Regions from separate parts of the Homo sapiens genome. Here all the other regions are linked to region 2. The links are contacts of gene promoters, found by promoter capture Hi-C in blood cells and fetal thymus (Javierre and others, 2016). All regions are on one chromosome and are shown on one strand. The core of a region is centred on a gene start or on the middle of the fragment in contact, and the rest is flanking DNA. Distances in the headings are between cores, read along the strand shown.

Evidence for each region. Contacts are between HindIII fragments. The CHiCAGO score rates a contact against its expected background, and 5 or more counts as called.
Region 1: a contact is called between the fragment with the promoter of SEPTIN7-DT here and the fragment with the promoter of CDK13 in region 2, in 3 of 17 cell types (naive CD8 T cells, total CD4 T cells and fetal thymus). The highest score is 7.0, in naive CD8 T cells.
Region 3: a contact is called between the fragment with the promoter of STK17A here and the fragment with the promoter of CDK13 in region 2, in 1 of 17 cell types (total B cells). The highest score is 5.2, in total B cells.

Annotation. Positions count from the first base shown.
Region 1 is chr7:35,798,806-35,803,076 of GRCh38, forward strand. SEPTIN7-DT (SEPTIN7 divergent transcript) reads right to left here and starts at 1,820. Exons shown (of 5, transcript NR_120512.1): 1 at 1,685-1,820. It overlaps SEPTIN7 (septin 7), which reads left to right and starts at 2,252. Exons shown (of 14, transcript NM_001788.6): 1 at 2,252-2,465. The coding sequence starts at 2,405. RefSeq lists enhancers at 1,484-1,543, 1,666-2,289, 1,904-2,293 and silencers at 2,444-2,683, 2,714-3,163. The HindIII fragment of the contact is 5,766 bases long and covers 1-4,271 here.
Region 2 is chr7:39,947,214-39,951,505 of GRCh38, forward strand. CDK13 (cyclin dependent kinase 13) reads left to right here and starts at 3,043. Exons shown (of 14, transcript NM_003718.5): 1 at 3,043-4,292. The coding sequence starts at 3,429. It overlaps CDK13-DT (CDK13 divergent transcript), which reads right to left and starts at 2,206. Exons shown (of 1, transcript NR_158201.1): 1 at 308-2,206. RefSeq lists enhancers at 1,492-2,411, 1,911-2,040, 2,111-2,360, 2,412-3,330, 2,831-3,110 and 3 more and silencers at 2,601-2,830, 3,621-3,910, 3,981-4,040. The HindIII fragment of the contact is 3,453 bases long and covers 1,742-4,292 here.
Region 3 is chr7:43,580,231-43,584,496 of GRCh38, forward strand. It overlaps STK17A (serine/threonine kinase 17a), which reads left to right and starts at 2,878. Exons shown (of 7, transcript NM_004760.3): 1 at 2,878-3,219. The coding sequence starts at 3,014. RefSeq lists a silencer at 2,498-3,277 and enhancers at 3,678-3,727, 3,858-3,967. The HindIII fragment of the contact is 5,737 bases long and covers 513-4,266 here.

The DNA of each region.
Region 1 (4,271 bases), core at 570-3,069, 4.1 Mb before region 2:
ATGAACAAACTTCAGACAAGGAATTTAATATAGTTTCTATTAAGAATTTATCCATTTTCATAGCACAAAATAACACAATTCACCTCTTTCATACCCATTAAGAGATCTTCCTCAAAGAAATATTATCAATAGAGATGGGAGGCAAAGATTTACTTCCTTTAGACTATTAGGTTATATTAATATAAGTATTTGCTTTAATTTTATATTTTAAAATAATCTATATTTAGGTAATATTTACTAAGCATTGACTAAGCACCGTGTTCATGTATTAGTCTATTTAACTCTTATCAAAATCCTGTTAGATAAGTATTATCTCCGTTTATAGATGAGGAAACTGGATCACAGGAAAGTTTAAGTAACTTGTTCTTGGTTGCAAGCCTAATAAATGGAGAGCTGGGATTTGAACTCAGGCAGTCTGACTCCGGAGGCTATATACATTTACCCTCCTTGGTACACTGCTTTTTTTCAAAAATAGAAATTCAACAAAATTTCCCAAAGTAAAAGTTCATTTGAAGTTTCAGAAACTTAAAACAATGATTGAACAGATAAGTTGCAACAGACTTCATAAGCAGTTCAGTAAAAATGTAGACTTACGAAATGGCATATATCAAGATACAAAATAAGTTGCTTCTATAAGTTTCTTTTCTTAAAAAAAATTACTTGGAAATATTTCAAGTATATAGAACAGTAAAGGAAATAATTACAAGTGAACACCCATGTGCCCTCTACTTAGCTTAATGTTTTGCCACATTTTCAAGATATTTCTGGTAGAAAACAAACGTTATAGATACAAATGAACCCTTCTTGTTACATTCCCTTCTGTTCATCTCTGGAAGCAACCAGTATTCTGAATTTGGTATCTATCATTTCCTTATACAATTTTTAGTTTGATCTTACTTTTTTGTAATTATTAAACTTTTATTTATGGTATGTCATATATATCTTTCCGCAACCTGTCTTTTCATTTCTTCCTCAATATTAGGTTAATGACTCTATCCATATGAAAAATGGTAGCTTTAGTTCACTGATTTTTTGGTTCGTGTTGTATGTCAATTTGTTCAACAATGACACTTATTCATCCATTCTCCTATTAGTAGACATTTATTGTTTCACTAATATAAGCTATTTTGCTCTGAACTTTCTTGCACGTGCCTATAACTTAAAAATACACATACTTTTTTAAAACATGCAGTTAAACAGGAACATACACATTTCTTTAACATGTAGTTAAACAGGAAAAGTAACACATGTGCATGAAGAATACAACCAAGAGAGCCATCACGTTCAAGAAAAGACCACAGGTTATTCCGAGTGAAGTAAGGCTTTCACTAGAAGGCACTTGGGGAACGTTCCAATGACAGCGACATTCATCGCTACAGTAGAAACTCACACAATCGCAGCCCTTTATTAGTATTTTGTTACCCAGTAGTTCCTGTGTCCATTCATTTCCTCAACTGGAGTGTGAGCTCCAAGAGGACCGAACCGGGCACCGACAAGGTGAGCCAATATGAATGTGGCGAGTCCGCAATGGGGGCTACAGCGGCCGACCTCTGGGGCTGTGCCAGGCCACTAGAGTGTGATGGCGCGAGGGAAGGGTCGGGGAAACAGGGCCTAACCTCACTTTTCACCCCGAAAGTCAAGATAGCCACGGAAACAGGGATGAATGGGGAGCACAGACACCTGCCTCGAAGTGTCTCTTCACTTTCACTCACAAAGCCGTCGGGTCAGTAACCAGAAGCCGAGGGGCGGATGCGGCCCCCGCCCTGTGGCACTTTCTCAGTCTGGTTCTTCCAGCCGCGCCTCTTTGCCTTACGCCAATTCCGTAAGGAGGCGCTGAGGCCAACTGGCCGGCTCCCGCAGCTCCAAAACTTGACGTGAAATTGCGCGGGGCAGAGCTGACTGCGGCCATCTTTAATTCGGGCAAGACCCCACCCTCGCACCCCACCCACTAGTCCTTTTCAGCGTTCCCAGGATTTTCTCCAACAAATGTAACGCGGTTAACCTTAGAAGCAGTGTTGAAGAAACACGCAAAGAGGCCTGAGTATCCATGACCTCAGTGGTGCGAAACCCGGCCAACTTAAACATGGCGGCTAAACCCGAACAGCAAAACGTTGCTGACGCCAATGAAGTCATGCTCGAAATGGAGCGAGGCGGCGGAGCTGGGGAGGCGGTAATCTCGCGAGATGGAAGCCAGCCTCCGCTAGGCCCGGAAGCCTCGTCTGAGGGGGCGGGGGACGGAGGAGGGAGCGGGAGTCGAGCGAGAGCCTGTGGAGGAGTCCGCCTGCTGTAGCGTGCGTAAGCAAGGCAGCTACGCCGGGCGGCTACGCTGCGGAATCGGCGTAGGCGCCTTTGGAGAATCGGCGGGCTGCGCTCCGCTGGGGCTGGTCGCGGAGGGGGGGAGGGGATGTCGGTCAGTGCGAGATCCGCTGCTGCTGAGGAGAGGAGCGTCAACAGCAGCACCATGGGTGAGTCTCAGCTTCGGGTGCCGCGACTTGGGGTCAGCGGCTCCGAATGCCGGGAAGCTCTGCGGCCGCTGGACCGAGCTAGGGAACGCCCTGAGGCGAGGCGGAGGCAGCGGCGAGGGGAGCCGGGATGGGGGCCACTGCGGGCCCGGGGCGCGGCAGCGGCGGGCTCGGGGGGAGGGGAGGCGGCGGCGGTGACAGTTTGAATTGAACGTGAGGAGAGCCGAGGCGGCGGCATTTCCTGTGCCGCGGCGGGCTGGCCCCCGGCGCAGAGCCGCGGCCTCCGCGGCCGGAGCAGCCTGAGCGTGGTGGTCTCAGCCCTGCCCTTGCTTCTCTCCGTCCCTTCGCCTTTCCTCAGTCTCCTCCCGGGCCCGCCGGCTTCCGCGGCCCCGCTTCCTCCTGTCCCCGGCCGCATCCCCGTCGGCAGAAGTCCCCTCGTGGGGCAGTGGGCCTGGCTAGGAGGGTGGGGACGAGTGTGAACGCTCGGGCGAGGGTGCTGTGTGGGCCAACCCGGGCGGGCGGCGGCGGGGAGGGAGGAAGAAGGATGCACCAGGCTGAGGCTGTGGTGGAGGCGGCGGCGGCGGCTGCAGCCGCAGCTCCAGTCACCGCGTCGCCTCCCCGCTCCTCCTCCCGCCTCTCGGGGTTGCCTCTCTCCAGGCGCAGCCCGGAAGGCCGGTGGATGGCGGGCGAGTCTTGAGAACGGAGGGAGAATCGGTAGTTTGGTTTGGAATTTGGGCTTAATTTTTAGGAGTAAGGGAAAGAGAACGCCTGGGAAGGGCGCCCCCCGGAGGAGATAGAAAGGGTGGGAAGGGTCCTTGGAAAAGGGAGGGAGCGGAGATGTGGAGTGGCGAAGTTTAGGGAAATTAATTTTTGAAAATATTTCAATATTCTCAGTTATTCTCTTAACGAGCCCTTTCATTTCCTTTCCTCCCCCACATGTTGGAAAAAGAACAGGCCATTTCATTTACATTTTCCACTCCTGAGTTCCATTTCAGCTGTGTGTATAGTAAGAAATAAGCAACCGAGATTTTTCTAGGACATTTCCATTTGCTGAGTTACTTTTGAAGAGTACACTGTTTCAAATTTGGGTTTTTACAGTCCTAGGAAAGAATTTGTGACGTCCAGGTGTTTTCTTAGTTACTGAAATAATAACTTACTACATTTCTTGAGTTTATTGCTAAATAGTTCAGCTTTAAGAATTCTTTCTTCTGGCTTTTTTATTTTGATGAAAGGAAAAAATATCTTTGTTAGTGCCCCTGAGAATGTAAATGAACAGATCATCTAAATTACTAAGCATCTAACCTGTTTTACATATTTATGCACATGCAGGTGATGAGTATAGTCAGTTTTTCCCCCTAAAGTTTATGTGCAGACATGGGGAGGAGAGTATTTTAGACTTAAAAGTGTACAGGTAGGGATGAAATTTATGGAATCCTGATAGACTGAAGGGGGGATATAAACAATGACCAAGTCAGCTATTGCTGCTTGGATTCTTTATTTCTTCAGACTGCAAGGGAATGAGTAAGGGGTGGTTGGGTGGTGATGGGGGGGTGGTACGGTCGTGGCGGGAGAGCAGTAAACAATCTTTCATCTCATTCAGCTGTTCAGTGGGTGGGACTAAAGGAGATAAGAGTTGAGTGAAGCTATGAAATAAATGTGGAAGCTACATAGGTGATTTGCATGGTAGCATTGTCTTATTCTATGATGGGACAACATGATGGAACCAGGTCTTCATAACACAGTTATTAAAAATACATATTTTACCACATCTTAGGCTTACAGAATTCAAATTCACAACAAATAACAGAA
Region 2 (4,292 bases), core at 1,793-4,292:
TGAGGTCAGGAGTTTGAGACCAGCCTGCTCAACATGACAAAACCCCGTTTCTACTAAAAATACAAAAAAATTAGCTCGGCATGGTGGCGGGCAACTGTAATCCCAGCTACACGGGAGGCTGAGGCAGGAGAATCGCTTGAACCTGGGGGGCGGAGGTTGCAGTAAGCCAAGATTGCACCCCTGCACTCCAGCCTAGGCGACAAGAGCAAAACTCTGTCTCAAAAAAAACAAAAACAAAAACAAAACAAAACACGAACTCCCCACCCCCCCACACACAAGCAGTAATAAACAAAAATATAGTCGTAAATGGGAATTTCAAATCTCTTTAATATTCAGGCAAGCAGACAGGCTTATAGAAACAGACGGCTTCTAATTCAAAGGTCCTTCCCATTTTTTGGAGTTTGAATCCTATTAGTTATTAGTGTTTCCAACCACGTGGGCAGGTATCTTGAGCTCAAAATGTTCATTCAACCTCCCCCACCAAAGGTAGAATCTTTGAGGAAACGTGGGTGGTAGAACCACAGTAAAAATATTTTAGTACATGTTTTTTGTTTGCACCCTGGATTGGGAACTATCCATTTACTTTTTTTCCCTTCTTCTCCATTTAATACACTTACACATGGGAATTATCCATTTACTATGGATCAAGTTTTCTTTGAAAATATATGATAGAAGATGACATTCTCAAGTGGAACTGGTTGTACACGAGGGGAGCTGCAAGCTAAACCTCTTATTTGCTCTCTTTGTTCTGTTATTCCAGTCTATCTAACGTAGGACGATGGAACAAGTTGATCCTACATGTTTCTGAAAAAGCCACTTGCTAAACAGTCTTTGGTAGGAGGCTGGCTACAGGACCTTCACTCAACAATACTGTCAACCAGAAATTTGTTTTAGGAACCCTGCCCCCTATTTTTCTATTCAGTTTCCCAATGCCCATCCCATGGTGTTGCCCACCCAGGCCTGCCCTCCTGGGAAATGCTCTGACTTTAAGATTACCTATTCCTTTGCCTCCTCCTTTATCCTTCAGCAAACCAACATCCTTTGTACTCGGTCAGTGAAGTCTGATCTTAGCTTAAATCAGGCCAGTCTGTGATACTGTGATGTCAAACTGATTAAAATAATTTACACTAAGGTATTAACGATGGATAGATACCAAGTGTTTAAGAACTAAACCAACTGATGATCTGAACAAATGAATTTTCAAAGGGGTTACTACATTTAGTCATTGAACAGACGGCTTAGCTTTTTCTTTTATTAGAGGCAGGGCCTCGCCCTGCTGATTGGCCAGGCTGGGGTGCTGTGGCACGGTCATGGCTCACTCCAGCCTCGAACTCTTGAGCTCCAGAGATCCTCCTGCCTCAGCCTCCGGAGTAGCTGGGACTACAGGCGTGTGCCACTGCACAGGGTTAGCTTGCGTTTCCAACCATTCTAAAAGCCAATAAGCCATTTACATTTTAATCTAATTATCCCGAGTGCTTAGTCTGTAACTGAAGGGCAATTCTAAGGCAAGAAATGAGATGTGAGGTCACTATATGGCTATGTTTGGCAACCCCAAAGGTTTAGATATGAAGGTGAAAGTGGGTGAAGTACTAAGAGGGCAGTCCTCATTCGCACAAGATGTTTTTATTTCAAGCCTCCTGAGAATTTGGAATTTTCAGTAGTTCCTTTTAACATTCCACTTATTTCCTGTATTGATTTAAAGCTTTAAAAATTTTTATTTTAAAGTAAATAGTGTTACCGAAGCTTGAGCTGTGATTCCCAAGTGTGTTTTTTAGGATAAGAAGGGGCCTCGCGGAAGTTGCGGTGAGCCGAGATCGCACCATTGCACTCCAGCCTGGGCAACGAGAGCGAAACTCAGTCTCAAAAAAAAAAAAAAAAAAAATGGGGCCTCGAACTTTGGCGTACGTGAGACAAGTTAAACCAACGCCATCTCCACCCTGTTTTGCGGGGTGTTTTCTCTCCTTTCGCAGCTGTTCCACTCCCAGGGCTTGACTGAAGGTACACGGGGGGTAACTGCCTACTCCAGAAGGCCACCAACAGCATTATTTCCCTCGCAGTCTCCAGAAACACTTGTTCTCACTGTGACCTTTCGCTCAACAGGCAGGCAGTGCGGCGTCTGCAGAGCCGGAACCGGCACTGCGCGCTGGACGCAAGCAACAAGCACGACAGGCGCGCCACCACGGGCAGAGTCTCAAGCAACAGCAGTGGGCGGCACACGAATCCTCTCCTTTCTTTAACCCTTCTTCACACGGAGTCCCACCCTCGCCGGAAGCCGAGCGGTTTCTACATCATGCCACTTCCGGTGCGGCCTGCCGGCCCCTGGCGGGAGCGAGCACGCCAGTGCGCGGTAACTTTGTTCCCGCCTCTCTTGCCCCGGCCACCTCTCATCTTCGGCTTTCTCTGAGCGTGAATTGCGGGCGCGCTCCCGGTCGTACGTCAGGGCTGAGGGGAAAAGCCGAAAGAGCGAGGCGAGAAGGAGGGGTTGTGGAGGTTAGGGCCCAACCAGCAAGTCCCGTTGCTCTCCCTCCTCCTGACGAGGAGCGGAGAGGGAAGGGGAGGAGCGAGCCGGGGCAGGCCGCGCACACCAGGAGCCTCCTCGTGGAGGGGGGGAGCGGAGGAAAGGGGTAGCTCCGCCACCTCTGCTGGCGGCGGCGGCGGCGGCGAAAGAAGAAGAAAGTCAGGGCCCGTACCTACCGCCACAGACTCAGAAACGCCCCTGCCCCCATCTCCCCGGAAATAGCCCCCCGCCCAGCCCCGCACAGTCGCTGCCCCAACCGAGAGCCGCAGCCCGGTCGCCCCCGCCTCGCCCCGCCCCGCTGCCCAGCCCCGCGGGCCGCAGAGTGCGCGAGGCCCTAGGCCGGGAGTTGTTGTCAGGCCCAGGCCACTTCCGAGGCGCCTGCGGTGTGTCGCCGCCACCACAGGAGGACGACGTCGACGCCGAGGAGGAGGCGGTGGAGGCGTGTTGTTGTCTCGCCCACTCCCCTCCCCTGAACTTGCACCCAACGTCAGGGCGCGATGGAGTGAAGCGGCGACGAAGGTGGTACTTCCGCGTTGCGCTGCCCGAGCCGAGAGCGCGGCCAAGGCCGCTCCCCCACCCCCGGGGGCACTTGGAGGACTCGGGACTCCCCCGCAGGTCAGCGCCCGGCGCATCTGGTGTTTTCGCTGCCGAGGATAGGACGACGAGCGCAATCGGGAGCTCCGCCGCCCGGATTCCTGCTTCCCTGGGGCCCGGAGGCTGCTGCGTACCCCACTGTGACCTGGAACCCAGGGACCCGAGTCCCGACCCGGATTATCGTGGCGCTTTTCCCGGCCGGCTCTGGTGCTCGGTGTCCCTCCGCCGCCGCTCCCGTTTCCGGCGGGGGAGATGGCCAGGATCTGACCCGGGAGGAGGCCGCACCCGCGCCGCGCTCTGCGGCTGGCTCTAGGCGATGCCGAGCAGCTCGGACACGGCGCTGGGGGGAGGCGGGGGCCTGAGCTGGGCGGAGAAGAAGTTGGAGGAACGCCGCAAGCGGAGGCGATTCCTGTCCCCTCAGCAGCCGCCGCTGCTGTTGCCGCTCCTGCAGCCGCAGCTCCTGCAACCGCCGCCGCCCCCGCCGCCTCTGCTCTTCCTGGCTGCTCCCGGCACGGCCGCCGCCGCAGCCGCCGCCGCCGCGGCCTCCTCCTCTTGCTTCAGCCCGGGCCCCCCTCTGGAGGTCAAGCGGCTGGCGAGAGGCAAGAGGCGCGCAGGAGGGCGGCAGAAGCGGCGTCGCGGGCCCCGCGCCGGGCAGGAGGCGGAGAAGCGTCGGGTCTTCTCGCTGCCCCAGCCGCAGCAGGACGGCGGTGGCGGTGCTAGTAGCGGCGGGGGTGTGACCCCGCTGGTGGAATACGAGGATGTGAGCTCCCAGTCCGAGCAGGGGCTGCTGCTGGGGGGGGCCAGCGCGGCAACGGCGGCGACGGCTGCCGGGGGAACGGGGGGCAGCGGCGGGAGTCCGGCCTCCTCCTCCGGCACCCAGCGGCGCGGGGAGGGGTCGGAGCGCAGGCCCCGCCGGGACCGCCGCAGCAGCAGTGGCCGCAGCAAGGAGCGCCACCGCGAGCACCGGCGGCGGGATGGGCAGCGCGGTGGCAGCGAGGCCTCCAAGTCCCGCAGCCGCCACAGCCACAGCGGCGAGGAACGGGCCGAGGTCGCCAAGAGCGGCAGCAGCAGCAGCAGCGGCGGCCGCCGGAAAAGCGCTTCGGCCACATCCAGCAGCAGTAGCAGCCGCAAGGACCGGGACTCGAAGGCCCACCGCAGCCGGACTAAGTCGTCCAAGGAG
Region 3 (4,266 bases), core at 1,628-4,127, 3.6 Mb after region 2:
GAGATTATAATATTCATTATTGATGTATTAAAGCCAAGTACTTTTATCAATTCCTATACAATCCTAGGACTTTAGAACACTTTACTTTCATTTACTCTATCTCACTTTTTGTGCTGCTATTGTGTATATTTTAATTCTACATATATTTAAACTTCACATGACGTTATTTTTATTGTTTTATATAAATTGTGTTTATTTATATCTATCCATATATATATATGTATTTATATCTATCCATATATAAAAGGATTGATTGCTCTTCATTCCTTTAGATGTCTCCATGATTTCATTTGGGATTATATTCCATCTGCCTGAAAAACTCCTTTTGGAATTTCCTTTAATGTAAATCAGCTGATGATCTTAGTGTTTCTTGGTTATAAAACTGGCTGTATTTTATTTTCAATTTTGAAGATCATTTTTACTGGGTATATAATATAGGTTGATAGGTAATTTCTCCTAGCGCTTTGAAAACATTTGAAGGTGTTTAGGCTTCCATTGGTTCTTTGAGAATAAGCTTTTAATTTTATTGTTGCTCATTTGCAGATTATATCTCTGTTTTCTTTGCTGATTTTAAACCTTTTCTTTTTGATTTTGTTTCTCAGTAGTTTACAATGTGCCTAGACATGGTTTTCTTTGCTTGAAATCCTGCTCTATGTTCATAATGTTTCTTGACTCTGAGAATTGTTGTTCATTAGTTTTAAAAAATTTCCAGCCGTTATCTTTTCAAATACTGCTTCTTTTCCTTTTTTCTCTCACCTCTCTTCCTGATATTCCAATTACGTGTGTGTTAGAATGTTTTACCACATATCACATGTGTCATAGTCTCCTTTCTGAGACCTTATCTCTTTTATAGAAAGTTCTTTCATATCTCTTGTATGTCATTTTTCATATTTTGTTTTGCTTATTAGCTTCACTAATTCTTGCTTAAGTTGTATCTCATCTGTTATTAAGCCCATAATTCTGTAGTAGTTTTAGTTAGTGTGTTTTTTTCTCCAATTCCAAAATTCCATTGTATTCTTCTTTGGAGTTTCCAGTTCTCTGCTGAAAACTCTTTATCTTGCAATTTAATTTCTTGAAGATATTTAACAGAATTATTTTAAAATCTGTCTTTAAACTTTAATATCTGGATCTTCTGTGTGTTTATTTCTGTTTTCTTTTTCCCTTAGTTTTTAAGACAATTCTGTGTCCTTTGTTTAAATTAAGTTTCAGACATGGTGTATAAAATATTATATGGGTAATGTGTTGCTCTGAATGATGCTTTTTTTCCCCAGAGAGAATATTTACTGTTGCCATTTGAAGCTGGTTTTCAGCCCTTGGGTCTATTTCCCGTTCATCCACACCCCTAGGGTATAGCTCTTCGGAGTCCCAGCTGAAAGCCTAGTTGCTTACCAGCCCCTCATCATAAATAGGTCCTAAACTCCAATTTTTTTTTTGTCTCCCCAACCCCATGAGATGACTGAAAGCTCTGCTTACTTTCTCACTCTTTCAGCCATGGCTTTAAAATCATCAAATACCTCATGGGAAAAGTGGTGGCTTTCTGAGCTGCCTATCTTTCCAGGATTTCAGTCATCCAAGTCCTTGCTGGGAGAGGAAATTTTTAACTTTTGTCAACTTTTCTATTTTTTCTTAGTGAGAATATTGAACACAAATAAACTAGTATATCAGTGCCAGAAGCAAAACTCCACTGAGACAGTCTGAGTAGAGCAGTGGTGTGATTTGGTTTCGATTTTTAAAAGATCACTCTCATTGCCTTGAAAATGAACTATGCGACATTAGGGAGAAAGAAGGATGGAAGCAGGTGGTCCAGTTAGTAAACTATCACAATAATCCAGGTAAGAGATAACGATGGCTCAGGCCATGGTGGTAAGGTGGAAATAGAGAGAAGTGATCAAACGCCGCATCTAGTTTGAAGGAAAAGACAAGAGGGTTTACTGACAAACTGGAGATGAGCATGAGAGAGGAATCAATGCTCATCCCAAGATTTTTGGCCTGAACAGCTAGAAGGAAGGAGATGAAGAAAACTGAGACGGGGAAAGCTGGGTAGGAGTGCATTCATGAAGACCAATCAGCAACTTACTTTTGTGTATGTTAAGTCTGAGATGCTAATTTGACATGTAAGTGGAGATGCCAAATGCATAGTCAAATACACCAGTCTGAAGTTCAGGGAATATTTGGAAGCTAGAGATACAAATTCTGTAGTCATGAGCATATAGATGGTAATTAAAGTCGTAAGACCGGATGAGAGGACCTCGAAAGTAAATATAGAGACGACTACAGACAATATAATAGTGTCTATTTCATAGGGCCGGTGTGCAGGGTTAATAATATTTATACAACTCTGCCTCCAGACCCCTCTCCCAGTGTACGGAGATCAGGATCTCATCACCCCTCCCCACCACGTGAAGTCCTGCTTACAGCTCAAATGCCTTTTATTAACCGAAGTGCCTCCAGACCCCTCCCCTCCTCACCACGTGAAGTCCCGCTTACAGCTCAAATGCCTTTTATTAACCGAAGGTCAGCTTTTGTGACTCTCAGACGCTCAACAGGTGCGCAACTCTGCTAACGCAGTAGGCTGTCCTGGCCAAAGGGTGGTGCTGTGAGTCGCCTCCAGCCTCCGGGCCGTCCCGAAAGCTGCACCTTCTCCCCCTGAGCTGCAGAGGGCGCGCGTGAGGCATCGGGCGCTCAGGACCCCGCGGGAGCTCAGCGAGGGGGCGGGCGGCCACGGAGTGAGGCCGGGGCGGGGTCGGGCGCGGGGCGGACGTGGGGAGGGGTTGGCCGGGGCCAGAAGCAGGGTGCAGGGCAGGCGCGGGGCGGTCACGGGGGCGGGGCCGGTCGCGGGGCGCGGGGCGGGCCCGAGCTACCGGTAGTCTGCCTGCCGCAGTCCGAGCGCCGCGCTGGGGAGAGCGGGTGTTTGAAGGCTCCGCGGACCGGCACTAGGAGCCGGGGGCGGGTCCGTGACCCTCCGGCTGCTCGGAGTGAACAGGCGGCCAGGAAAGAAGCGGGCCTGAACACCATGATCCCTTTGGAGAAGCCAGGCAGCGGCGGCTCCTCCCCAGGCGCCACCTCAGGCTCGGGCCGGGCAGGCCGGGGTCTGAGCGGGCCGTGCCGGCCGCCGCCGCCGCCCCAGGCCCGCGGGCTGCTGACAGAGATACGCGCCGTGGTGCGCACCGAGCCCTTCCAGGACGGCTACAGCCTGTGCCCGGGCCGGGAGCTGGGCAGGTGAGGACGGGCGGGGCCCGGCGCGGAACCTTCCCGGACGCGCGGGGCGGGACGTGGGCGCCGATAAGTGCCGGCGCCGCGGCGGCGAGGCTGAAGTGGCGTTGCTGCTGCCGATAACGCGCGTTGTGACTTGGCACAAACTTGGGTGCCGACGGCAAGTAGGGCAGCCGAGTCGCACCAGCGCCCCCTCCACGCGCCGCGCCCAGCAAGCGAGTGGTGGTAACTCGATGGCGGTCCCGGAGGCGCGGACACTTTCCTCAGCCCTTTCGTTCTCTGTGGCGTTTCGAATGGCTATTTAACGAGAGAAGGTGCGGGCCGCGCTCTGCCTTTCACCCCGAGCAGCGGGTCTGAAAACCAGAGGTCTGTGGAGCCGACTTTGCATTTTTCCTTCAACTCTTGCGACTTTCTTGGTCTGCCTGTGTGGTTTTAATAAAATACAGCATCCGTTGTGACCGCTTCCTTTGCACCGGCGCTCTGTTACCTTGTGTCGGTCTTCTGCTGAATTCATTTTCGTTTTCTTGGTTGGTTTTCTGCCGTTTTAGTTCTAAAGCATTTAGGTCCCTTTGCTTCGAGTTTAGATTGGTTTCTTTCGTGGGCGCTTGGCCCTTTTCTCGCTTTTTACTTTGCTGGGAACCGATTCTTGCCTTCTCCCCCCACCCCACGCTAGCCCACCCTTTTTTTGTGGGAGTAGAGAGAGCTTACAACTTGGTCTGTAAAGTTGCAGGTGCAGGCTGTTCGGATGCTTTACATTTTGTATGCTGAAGAGGGGTGATCGAGTGATTTTTGTGGGGTTTGGCGACTCTTCCTTGAGAACAGTTTGAAGAAGTTGTTAAATACTCTGGCTTTGGGGGCAGACCTGAGTTCATATTCGTGCCCTTCTTGCTGTGTTTGCCTTTGGAGGGGTTAGACTCTCCAGCCTCACTTTCCTCATCCGTAAAATCGTATAATGATGACAGTACCTACCTCAGAGGTGGCCTGAAGATGCCATGCTTGTCAAGCGCATACCACTGGGCTTGCCACATGGCGTTCAGTAAATGTTCGCATTAT